Linked DNA regions of Homo sapiens: region 1 is linked to region 2. The links are contacts of gene promoters, found by promoter capture Hi-C in human tissues and cell types (Jung and others, 2019). All regions are on one chromosome and are shown on one strand. Each heading gives the region's core, a stretch centred on a gene start or on the middle of the fragment in contact. The rest is flanking DNA. Distances are from core to core; before and after follow the strand shown.

What was found. The method cuts DNA at HindIII sites, captures the fragments that hold promoters and counts their contacts. A contact is called where the count stands out against the background at its distance.
Region 1: a contact is called between a fragment that was not itself captured here and the fragment with the promoter of RPL34 in region 2, in 1 of the 25 tissues and cell types used here (heart right ventricle).

What each region holds. Positions count from the first base shown.
Region 1 is chr4:108,453,901-108,459,517 of GRCh38, reverse strand. No RefSeq gene overlaps it. Among named protein-coding and RNA genes, the nearest start is that of RPL34-DT, 160 kb to the left of the region's middle. The HindIII fragment of the contact is 5,912 bases long and covers 579-5,617 here.
Region 2 is chr4:108,616,473-108,622,396 of GRCh38, reverse strand. RPL34 (ribosomal protein L34) reads right to left here and starts at 1,821. Exons shown (of 5, transcript NM_001319236.2): 1 at 1,797-1,821; 2 at 373-446; 3 at 193-292. The coding sequence starts at 437. RPL34-DT (RPL34 divergent transcript) reads left to right here and starts at 1,940. Exons shown (of 4, transcript NR_026968.1): 1 at 1,940-2,089. RefSeq lists enhancers at 1,809-1,858, 1,084-2,283. The HindIII fragment of the contact is 5,652 bases long and covers 1-2,741 here.

The DNA of each region.
Region 1 (5,617 bases), core at 2,285-4,784, 160 kb after region 2:
GGAAGAGTAAATAAAAATAATGTTTGTGCTGGGTCGCTTGAGCTCAGGAGTTTTAGACCAGCCTGGGCAACATGGTGAAGCCCCATCTCTACCAAAAATACAAAAATATTAGCCGGGTTTGGTGGTGTGCTCCTGTAGCCCCAGCTACTCAGAGGCTGAGGTGGAAGTATCACTAGAGCCCAGGAGGTGGAGGCTGCAGTGAGCCAAGATTGCACCACTGTACTCTAGTCTGGGTGACAGAGTGAGACCCTGTCTCAAAAAAATAAAAAAATAATGTTTTCCAAAAGTCCCACAGAGGCTCTGGTCCACAGACAAGACATAATATACTGGTGTGAATCGGGACTTCACTCCTGGTGCCAGTGCTAATCCCAGGCTATAGTGGGCAGGGGCAGGTCTAGAGGATGGCGGAAAGGCATGATCACTTGCAAATGCACTAATTCCAACAGCCACATGATGATCCTATGTCCACCTTGGCCATTCTTATTGAATCTACTGTGCTAGTTATTAAGCTATCACCTCTCAGCTTTAAACCCATCCTTCTACACTCCATGCTGGGACTCAGGAAACTACATTTTTCCTTTGTCAGCTCGTTCTCTGTTAGATTTTGCCAATAGGGAGTAATAGAGGAAGACTGAAAGGCAGAAAGGGGAAGCATGGTGGAGCAATTTGTTCCTATCTCCAGCTTGTACTTGCACTCCCAGAACCAGTCTCAGTTTCAATGTGGTTTCATACTGCTATGGTTTCAATGTGTCTCCCAAAGTTCACAGGGGCTGGAAATTTGATTCTCAGTGCAGCCGTGTTGAGAGGTGGGACCCTTAAGGGGGGATTAGGCCATGAGGGCTCTGCTCTCATAAATCAATTAATGTCATTATTGCCAGGATGGATTAGTTATTGTGGGAATGAGTTCCTGATAAAGGATGACTTTGGCCCCCTTCCTCTCTGGCAAATGTGCTCTCTTGCCCTTTCACCTCCTGCCATGGGACGACATAGCAAGATGGCCTTTGCCAGATGTGAGATCCTAAACCTTGGACTTCCCAGCCTTCATAACTATAAGAAATAAATATATTTTCTTTATAAATGTACCCAGTCTGTGGTATTCTGTTATAGCAACACAAAACAGACTAAGATAGTCTCCCACCACTCCCATCAGAGATGTCAGCACCAGCCCGGTGGTTCTCCTTCTCAGAGGTATGAGTCCCAGCTCCATGTGCTTATCCCTTCAAGTTTCTAGGTTATGATAACACCAACATCTTCCCTGTGTTTTTCTAACCTTAGAGGTGGTGGATAATTTTCACACTTAATATTGCTGCATTATTTTTGACTTTTTTATTCTCAAGCACCTATTCTCTATTTTCTCACATTTTACCATAAAGTTTAGAGCACTATACACATGGTGCTGCACCTTGCATTTTTCATGTCGCAATACGTCTTACAGAGATGTGTGCATAGAGTTCTTCACAATTCTTTACATTAACCGATAATATTCCTTTAGGCTGAAGTACCATAATTTATTTAACTAGTCCGCTATTGGTGGAGGTTTTGCTTACTTCAATATTTTTCCAATTGAGAAAAAATGTCTTAATGAATGACATAGCAGAATTCAGAATTATATATACCATACATCATTTTGCATATGTGCAAATGTCTCAGTTCATTTTGTGCTGCTGTAACAGAACACCCAAGACTAGGTAATTAAAAAAGAACAGGAATTTATTTCTCACAGTTCTCAAGGCTGGTAAGTACAAGGTCAAGGCACCAGCATCTGGTGAGGACCTTATTTCCATGCCTCAAATGGTAGAAGGCAGAGGGCAAGAGAGAAACAACTCCCTCTGCCAAACACCTTTATAATGGCACCTAATTCCATTCATAGGGGTGGCACCTTCATGGCCTGGTCGCGTCTTAAAGGCCTCATCTCTTAATACAACCACATTGGCAACACCTAAGTTTTGGAGGGGATTCATTAAAAGCATAGCAGCAAGTATATCTGGTGGACAAATTTTCCAAAGTGACCTCACCTGGATCTAAGAGTATAAAAGAAAATTGCCCCCCATGGTGACTGTACCAATTTACACTCATACTAACAATGTATGAGAGTGTTTGCTTCCCTCACCTTCACTGAAAGAGTGTTATAAACCACTTACTGAAGTCAGTAAAATGAGTCTTTCATTGAGCATCTGAAGTCATGGCCTTGGTAGTTAAAAGGTACTGTCTCTCTTTTATAGACCTTAAAAATCCAGAACACTACTTGGTTGATCCATACCTGGTTCTTTTTTCAGGTAGACAGTTCAAGTTTCCTTAAGAAGACACCATCCTTTTTCCTAGGCCTATCTTCTTTGCTGTCTCTGCACAAAATGAAGCCTGGAGTGAGGCAGCCTAGGAATCAAAATTCTAGCTTTGCAGTCAAAAGCCTGAGGGTGTTGCTAGATGTCAATTTGACTTCCCTCTTGTCCTTACTTTTAGATTCCATTCCAATGTTATCCTTTAATAGTTTTATTTCAGGGAATTTGATTTTATTTCCCAGGCAGTGGAAGTTTGCATAAAGGTTTCATCAGGGGAGTGAATAGGGAAAATGGACTGATGGTGGAGGAGATTAAGCCCGGGGGGTGGAAGTCCAGGTGATTCATGATGGAGGACCCATGAGGGCAGTGTGGCAGCAATGGTGGAGGGTGGTACAGAGACTCAAGATATGGAGAGATAAAGACCAGATGATAGGAGGGAAGGAAGTAGGAGATCTGAAGAGGAAAAGAGAAGTTAGAGATGATGCTAAGATTTTTAGCTTCATCTACTTGGTAAATTATGAATAGAAAAAATAGGGAAGGGGGAGGCAGAAGAAAAGTATTAAATTTATATTTATAGTTTTTGGCTACTCTTTCTCTACTTTTTTTGTTTTTTGCCTACTTCATTTTCCCTTCATATTTTCTACTTTTTTGTTATGAAAATTTTAAAACATGCCAGAATGTTGAAGGAAAGTACATTCAACATTCCCACACTTACCCCCTAAATTAAAAAATTATTGATGCTTTGCTGTATTTGAGTTATACACACATGCAGATGTTTATTTTTGCAGAACGTTTGAAAGTAAGTTGCAGGTAACACAAAAGTTCATCCCTAAATGCTTCAGCATGCATCTCCCAATAATAAGGAAATCCTCCTCCAAAAGCACAATACCATAAAACATTTAAGAAAATTTACATTATTTCTCTAATATTAGCTAATTTAAAGCTTGTCTTCAAATTTTCTACATTATACCCAAAATATCTTTTATAGCTGGTTGTTTCAAAGCAAGATTCAATCACGCTTTATGCATTGCATTTGACTGTTATCTCTTTTAGTTCTTTTATCTCAGAACAGTCTCCATTTTTAAAAATGATATTGACTCTTATTGTCTTTTTGAAGAGACCAGGCCAATCAACCTATAGAGATCACACAATCTGGATTTGCCTGATTGTTGCTTTGTGGTATCCTTTAGCTTTTTACTCTCTCCCTTGTGTTTTATACAAACAGCAAGTTAGGTCTAAAAGACTTGATTACATTCAGGTTAAACATCATTGGCAAGAATAACTTACAGGTATTGCCACATACTTTCTATTTATCCCCTCAGCAGGTATCAAATGGCAGATTGTCCACAATTAGTGATAGTATATTTGATCACTTGGTTAAGGTAGTGGCCATCACATATTTTCATTTTGAAGATACATTTTCCTCTTTGCAATTATCAAGTTGTTTGTGGGGTGATATTTTGACACCTTGCAAATATCCCATCTCTCCTTATAACTTATATTTTGGAATGCTGGCCTATGGAATACCAGGCGAAATTGTCCAATGAGCAACTGGTAAAGCTTAGGGAGTTAAGTTTCAGCAATAGGACTTGAAGTCACTGGTATCAGGATGATGGTTAAAGCCAGTGAAGAGGGTGGGACCATCTAGAAAGAGTATACAGAGAAGAGGACTGGGGATGGGCAAAGGAAGCAGAGCCAGTAGAAGAGACCTAGGGGAAAATAATCCTGAACAAGAATAGGAACCTGCAAGGCTGGGACATGAAAGTTTCAAGTAAGGGTAGGAAGAGGAAACAATATTCAACCCTGTAGAGAGTCTTATCAGACGAAGCCCAGAAGAATGTCATGGAGGAGGGAAACCACCAGAAGATTCTTAGCAGAATGGTGAGGACAGAATCTGCTTGGCAATGAGGGCAGGCTGACTGTAGGGGCAAAGAGAGGGAGAAGAGCATATTCAGAAATAAGGTAATGTGGTTATGAAAAAGATTTTATTTTGCTTGCTTGTTTATTTGAGGGATGCAATATATTTGATCCTATTTGAGGACAAATGGAAAAGAACCAGTGGAGAGGGAGAGGACTAAGACTGTAAGGGGATGATTTATGGTGTTGGAGGAGAGGGCAAGGGAATGTGATTAAGGACACAGGGGTTTCACCTTGCGAAAGGATTGTCCCTTTCACAACAGAGCAACCTCAGTAAGAATGAGGTTTGACAAGGATGATTATGTTGGAGGAAAGTTGGAGGAATTCTCACCGGATGACCTCGATTTCTTCAGTGAGGTAGGAGATTGTCTCATGTAAGCAGGTGTGGGTAATCTGGGTCTTGAATCCCAAACCTTGAAGAGAATAGAGAGTTTTGAACAGCTGTTGAGAAGCCAGTGCATGCCCATATAATAGCAAGGAAGAGGAATATGAAGAGCCCACCAAAAATATGAATGAAGGGTTTGTTCCTTACACATCTGTAGCTCACTAAGTAGATCATAGCTTCCTAAAGAGTCCTCATTTGTTTTCCATTTCCCTCTGTTATTGGTTTAAAATATGGTGTCAGTCAGTGCCTGGCCCTCTGCACTCCCACCCTGTCTGACAACCAACCATTCCTCAGATGGGCCGCCCTCCTGCCCCTCATCCAAGCCCAGTGAGATGCTTGAGAAGTCAGACTCACAGAGACTCACAGAGACCCACTGTGGCATGTCAGAACCCACAGAAAATGTTCCTCCTGTGCATTATTTATGACTTTCCTGCATTTATATAATATCCAGCTTCCTGAAAGTAATTTGTTTTGGATTGTGTAGTGCTGGGCAGCACATCAAAGGTATGCTAAGCAGTGGTAATAAAACATTGAGGTTTATGGTCACTGAGGTATTAAATATCGCTCATAAATTACAGGGTGAGTATTTTAAATGAGCTATGGCTCAGAGAACAGTAGGTGCCCCATCTCTACACATATTAATTGCTACTCCCTGGCTTATTAATTATCAATAGTTTCAAAGGCTTTTTTACGGTCATTTTCTTAAGGAACCATTCTATGCCATTTCTGTGGTTCTGTGAGTGTTCATGTGAATGATGTATTGTGTGCATGAGCTGGCATTAGGCATAATAAAAATGTGAGGATACTTTAGAACATTGTAGTGTCTGATAGCCTTTCATTTAAAAATCAAATATTCCCCCTGTTTTAACCACTGGCATTCTGGTTGCTTTTTCCTAACAAGGCACCCTGCTTACTGCTTTGGACTTCAAGTGGCAAAGTCAGGAGGAGAGTACAGATCTGTTTCATTTCAGTTCTGATCAACTTTTGGTTGTAAGGCTCTATCCCATTGATTCCCACCTTTTTCTGCCAAATTGCC
Region 2 (5,924 bases), core at 572-3,071:
CTGAAAGGCATTTCACTGCATTTCTCAGATTGGTTTAAAAAGTCTATGTTCGTGGCAGATTTGGCTCATGAATGTTTAGTAATTCTGAACCCTCTTAGTGGTAACCTCTCCTTGATTCATTCCATCGTCAAGGGATGAAAGCTCAGTAAGTTCAAGACTTGTTAGGCTGCACACAGTAAAAGGTACACTTACCCCTCGAAGTCTGCCTGGGCACACACCACATGCAGATTTTGGTGCTTTCCCAACCTTCTTGGTATAAAGGTAAACAATTCTATTACCAGGGGTTCGGGACCTAGAAAGTGAAACAGTCAGTAGGTCAGCATTTTGTAGAGTAAATGACAATATATACTTAAAATTTTCAGAAATACTTACAGCCTAGTTTTGTTAGAGGCTGTATTGTAGGAAAGCCTACGTCGGTATGTCAAACGCTGGACCATTCTGAGTGCCTAAATTAAGAATAGAGTAACATCAAATCTTTCCATTGTAAAAGTAAATAAAATCTCAAAACAGTATCATGTGGTCTATTTCATTCACATACATATCCTTGTATGTAACACCCTTAAATTAAGATGTATTATTCCACATTTTAAAACTACTTGTATTTAAAGGTGACTGATAAACAAGAGGCCAAGAATGTTAGCTTTCCTGATGGTAATCAAACGTGGCACTTCCTTAACGTTCTGATGACCAGGCTCCTTACTCAGAGTCTAATTTTGTTTGGAGTGGTGTCCAGAAAAGTGCCACGAGCCCAGTTGGAGAAACACCGCTTTAAACAAAGAGCACAAAAAGTGAGCTCTGAAGTCGAATCCTTAGCTATGCCATTTACTGGGAATATAAAGGGCAAGGAGCTAGCCTCCTTATCTCTAACATGGGAATTCTGTCTACTTTATACAGCTGTCATTAGGATTAAACGACGTGGGCTATCCGTCCCAACACAATGCCTGGCACATATCAGGGTTCAATGTCTTGCCCTAAAGCACCACCTGCGTAAAGGCATACCCTTTAATACTAATTTTGATATTACACAAGTTTCTTTGGGTTATGGCACCTGCTTTCTTCCCACTTCTGGAAACATCGTGATGTTATTTAGCAAATCGGTTATACAGATATGCATACGAGCAACTTCGTTAAGGGAACTACCCAACGTAAAACATAATCAATACTTGAACTAATTTAATCTTCCCATTCCACCCCTTGTAACCACCTCATTTGTTGTCACAAGCCTCTCACTAAAATTAAACTAAAACAGAATTACCAGACACCAAAACTTGACACGTAAAACCAGTGCGAGTGATTTATGAAGCCATTATTCTGTTTGCATCTCCAAAAGCAAGACAGAAACTTCTAACACATTTTTCTCTTCCTTGACATGGGCCTTGGACGCAGAAGCCAAATAGCGAAACCACCCGAACTCGCCGGACCCTGCCCTCCCAAAGACTAAGGACACGTACAGGCGTGCTGTGAAAACGTGGGTGTAAAATATGAAAACGTTTGGCGATTTTCCAGACTCAAACCGCCAAACCACAACTCGTTAGTCTCCAAACGCTACACTTGGAATGCAGCAAAGTCCCGGGTGGTGAGCTGTGGCTACTCACGGCTTTGGAGGTGCCACCAGGAACAAGGGATTTCCAAAGATCAAAGTAAGGAACTTCCTCACCACCAACCTCCCTGTTGTGCCCCTTACCCCTACACCAGCTCAAAGGACTGCTTCTGAGAGCTCTAGGCTTCCTCAGCTCCTCGGATGGCAGCCGATTGGTAAGGAAATAAAGACAGGGAAAAGAGAACAACATCCATACCTGCAGACAACGTCCCCGGAAGAGGAAGAAAAAAGCCTTTGCCAGTTCAAAGGTCAAATAGAATTGCGCAGGACAGGAAGTTGCGTCAGAGAGAGAGTATCCGTGTTGTACGGAAGCCGACGCACCTCTCCGACGTGGGCAGAGATGCAGGGAACCACCACGTTGTACGGCAACCAACGTGCCGCCCCTCTGTGGGCGGGGATTCACACTAGCTGTCTGTGTCAAGGCCACGCAGAAATCTATTGGAAATCGCTGTGGAAACAAACGCAAATGAAAAGCCGCAAAGAGCAAAGGTGGGACAAAATCAACTTCTTTCGTTGTCATGGACACTGCACTTTTAATCTAAAGGGCGCCAGCTCTGGCGTTAGACCTGGGTTTAAATCCCAACTCTTGACATTTATGGTTAAGGGACCTTCAAGGACCAGGGACCTTCAAGAACCTTCCCTTCTTCAACCTTCCCTTCTCTTTCCTTGTCATTTATTCAGAGCACAAGCTTTACAAACAAATTGGGATTTTAATCCAGTGTCTGCTAATTATTAGCTATGTTACTTTGAGCAAGCCCTTAAATCTCTAAAAGGAAGATATTAGGAACTACCGTGCCATGTTATGTCATGATCAAAGGCATTATGAAGTTAAAGCACTTAGCACAGGGTCTTATAGAGAGGAAGTGCTCAGTAAATGGTTGCTAATCTTATGATTATGTACAAAGAACTACTTGAGGCTTTTCATGGGTGGTAAAGTTTAACCTTTAAAACAGTATGTAAAATTTTACATTAAGCGCACGTGTGTATTTTTCTGAGAAGAGGGTCCCTGGCTTTCATCACCTTGTCAAAGGGATTCATGACCTCTAAAAAAGTAAAGAACTCTTTGCCTGGGCTGTAAAAGACAATTCTAAAAGGGGCCTTTAAGTTTTTAATCTTAGATCAGGCTCCCTGGAAACACACCTCGAAGAGACTTGAGTGTTGGCTTATGGGGAGCGCTCTTAGAATGCACCTCCAGGAAGCTGAGAAAGGCGGGGTCAGGTGATCCACAACGTGGTTGCTGTGAGGCAGCTGCATTGCCCCAGAAGAGAGGATTTGGATAGGATATCCCAGTACCCACTCAACTTTCCTTCTAGTATTTCTAATCCATCTAGCAAACCAAGAAAGCAGGCAAGTGACTGAGGGCATGTAGTCTGTCTTGAACTGTGAGGCCTATTGATTCTATCAAGCCTCACATCACTGCCATCTTTGTCACAACACCAGATGGAAGGCTCTGGTTATATCCTTCCCTCTGCTCACTCTCAAATAGCTGCTTCTCCCCCGACCTTGTCATCAGCTACTTCCCTCCTTTCCAGTCCTTTGATTTTTGTCCTCTGAAATCCTTTTCGTCTCTGTGCCAGGCATTGAGATGGAAGCTTGCATAGAGAGACAAATGTGGTTTTTGAATAAATGCACTAATGAATGTATTTACTTGCAATATGTTCTCTATATTTTAAGAGAGACTTTGCAGAGCAGAAGAGAACAGGAGATGGGAGCCCTTGGCACACTATGCTGTTGTTTACGTCTCTGTCCGTGCCTTCCCCCACCCAAGTAGATAAGAATAGTGGTCTCATTGTTGTAGTTTTCCCTTAAGGTACTTAACCCAGTTCCATAATACTATTTTTCCCTCTCTTTAAATTTGTATTTGCATTTTTTCTTGATCAGTCTTGAGAGAGATATGGCAATCTTATTAAAAACTTCAAAGACAGCCAGGTACAGTGGCCCATGCCTGTTAATCCTAGCACTTCGGGAGGCTGATACAGAAAGATCACTGAGACCTGTAGTTAAAGATCAGCCTGGGCAACATAGCGAGACGCCCATCTCTACAAATTTTTTTTTTTTAATTAGCCAGGTGTTGTAGCACACACCTTTAGTCCCACCTACTCAGGAGGCTGAGGCTGGAGGATCACTTGAGCCTAGAAGTTTGAGGCTGCAGTGAACCATGATTGTGCCACCATACTCCAGCCTGGGCAACAGAATGAGATCCTATCTCAATAATAATAATAATAATAATAAATGTATGAAACTTTGGTATATGACAAAGGTAATATATCAGATTGGTGGGGAAAGATTGGTGACTATTCAGTAAATGAAGTTGGGAAAAATGGTTATACATATGGAAAGAAAAAATTGTATCCTTAAGTCACTCTACACTGAAAAAAAAAACCTTAAATGAGTCAATAATAAGGCTTTAATTTATTAGGAAATATAGGTGACTATCTTATAGACGTTGGAGTAGAAGAGGATTTTTTAAACAAGGCACAAAAAGCACAAACTCAGAAAAGACCAATAAATCTGACCACATTACAATTAATAGCTTTTATCAAAAAACCCTTAAATAAAAAAATGTTAAACCTCAAAGTTTCCCAGTCCAAGCCAAAAAAAGTATGATAGGTTCACCTTATTTTAATTTCACAAAAATTTGTAAAATATTTATTAAGTGCACACAGAAATTAATGAACAGAGAACAAAGACAGATTAAAAAAACAAATGAGATTCTTTAGGCCGGGTGTGGTGGCTCATCCCTGTAATCCCAGCACTTTGGGAGGCCAAGGCAGGTGGATCGCTTGATGCCAGGAGTTCAAGACCAGCCTGGCCAACATGGCGAAACCCCGTCTCTACTAAAAATACAAAAATTATCTGGGCGTGGTGACAGGTGCCTGTAATCCCAGATACTCAGGAGGCTGAGGCACGAGAATCACTTGTGCCTGGGAGGTGGAGGTTGCAGGGAGCCAAGATTGCACCACTGCACTTCCACTGAAGTTGCCAGCCTGAGCAACATAGAGAGATCCTGTCTCTAAAAAAAAAATTTTAAGGGGTTTTGTACATGTGATTATGATTACTAATCAGTAGACTACAAAGGAAGCCAAAATTAGAAGTGGAATGAAGGAATGTGTTGCAAGACACCAACAGCTTTTGTTATGCTAAAAATAGAACTCGTTATTGGCAGTTGTTTTTTCTTGATTTTCTTGCTTTCAGTACTTTATGCCACTAAGCATAAAATAATCATTTTAGTATGCTCATGGATTCTATGGATCAGGAATTTCTACATGGTATAATGAGAATAGTTTGCCTTTACTATGTAATGATTGGAGCCTCAACTGGGGGGTAACTTGAACAGCTAAGGTGTGCATGGGTTCTCTAGAGAAACAGAACTGATAGGGTATACATTTATTTGTTTATTTATTATAGGAATTGGCTCATGTGATTAAGGCAGAGAGGCCCTGCAATCTGCCATCTGCAAGCTGGAAAACCAGGACAGCTGGTCGTATAAGCCCTAGTCTGAGTCCAGAGTCCCAAGAACCAGGAGTGCTGATATTCAAGAACAGAGACCATGAATGTCCCAGCTTAAGCAGAGAGAAAATTCACTCTCCTCCGCATGTTTTTCTATTCAGACCCTCAACAAATTGGATGATACTCACCTACATTGTGAAGGCAATCTTCGTTACTTAGTGTACTGATTCCAATGCTAATCTTTTCTGAAGCCACCTTCACAGACCCACAGAAATAATGTTACCAGCTATCTGGGCATCTCTTAGCCCAGTCAAGTTGACACATGAAATTAATCATCAGGCTGGGCGTGGTGGCTCACACCTGTAATCCCAGTGCTTTGGGAGGCCAGGGTGGACAGATTGCTTGAGTTCAGCCTGGGCAACATGGCAAAACCCCATCTCTACCAAAAATACAAAAAAGTTAGCCAGGTGTGGTGGTGCATACCTGTGGTCTCAGCTACTCAGGAGGCTGAGGTGGGAGGATTACTTGAGCCTGGGAGGCAGAGGTTGCAGTAAGCTGAGATGGCACCACTGCACTCCAACCTGAGTGACAGAGTGAGACCCCATCTGAAAAAAAAAAAAAAGAAATTAATCATCATGGGGTGGGGGTAGAAGGTAGAATTATCTGAACACTTTTTAGTTTAATGCCTGGACTGGGCTGCTTCAAAGGCTGGGCTCTCATATGGAACTGTCAACCAGAGCAACTACATATAGCCTTTCTATAAGGCTTAGAATTCTCACAAATGGCAATTTGGTTCTGGGAGGTAGGTTCTCAAGAGAAAGCATCTAGGAAAAAAGCATTGTAAGAGAAACAACAGAAGATGCATGGCCTTGGA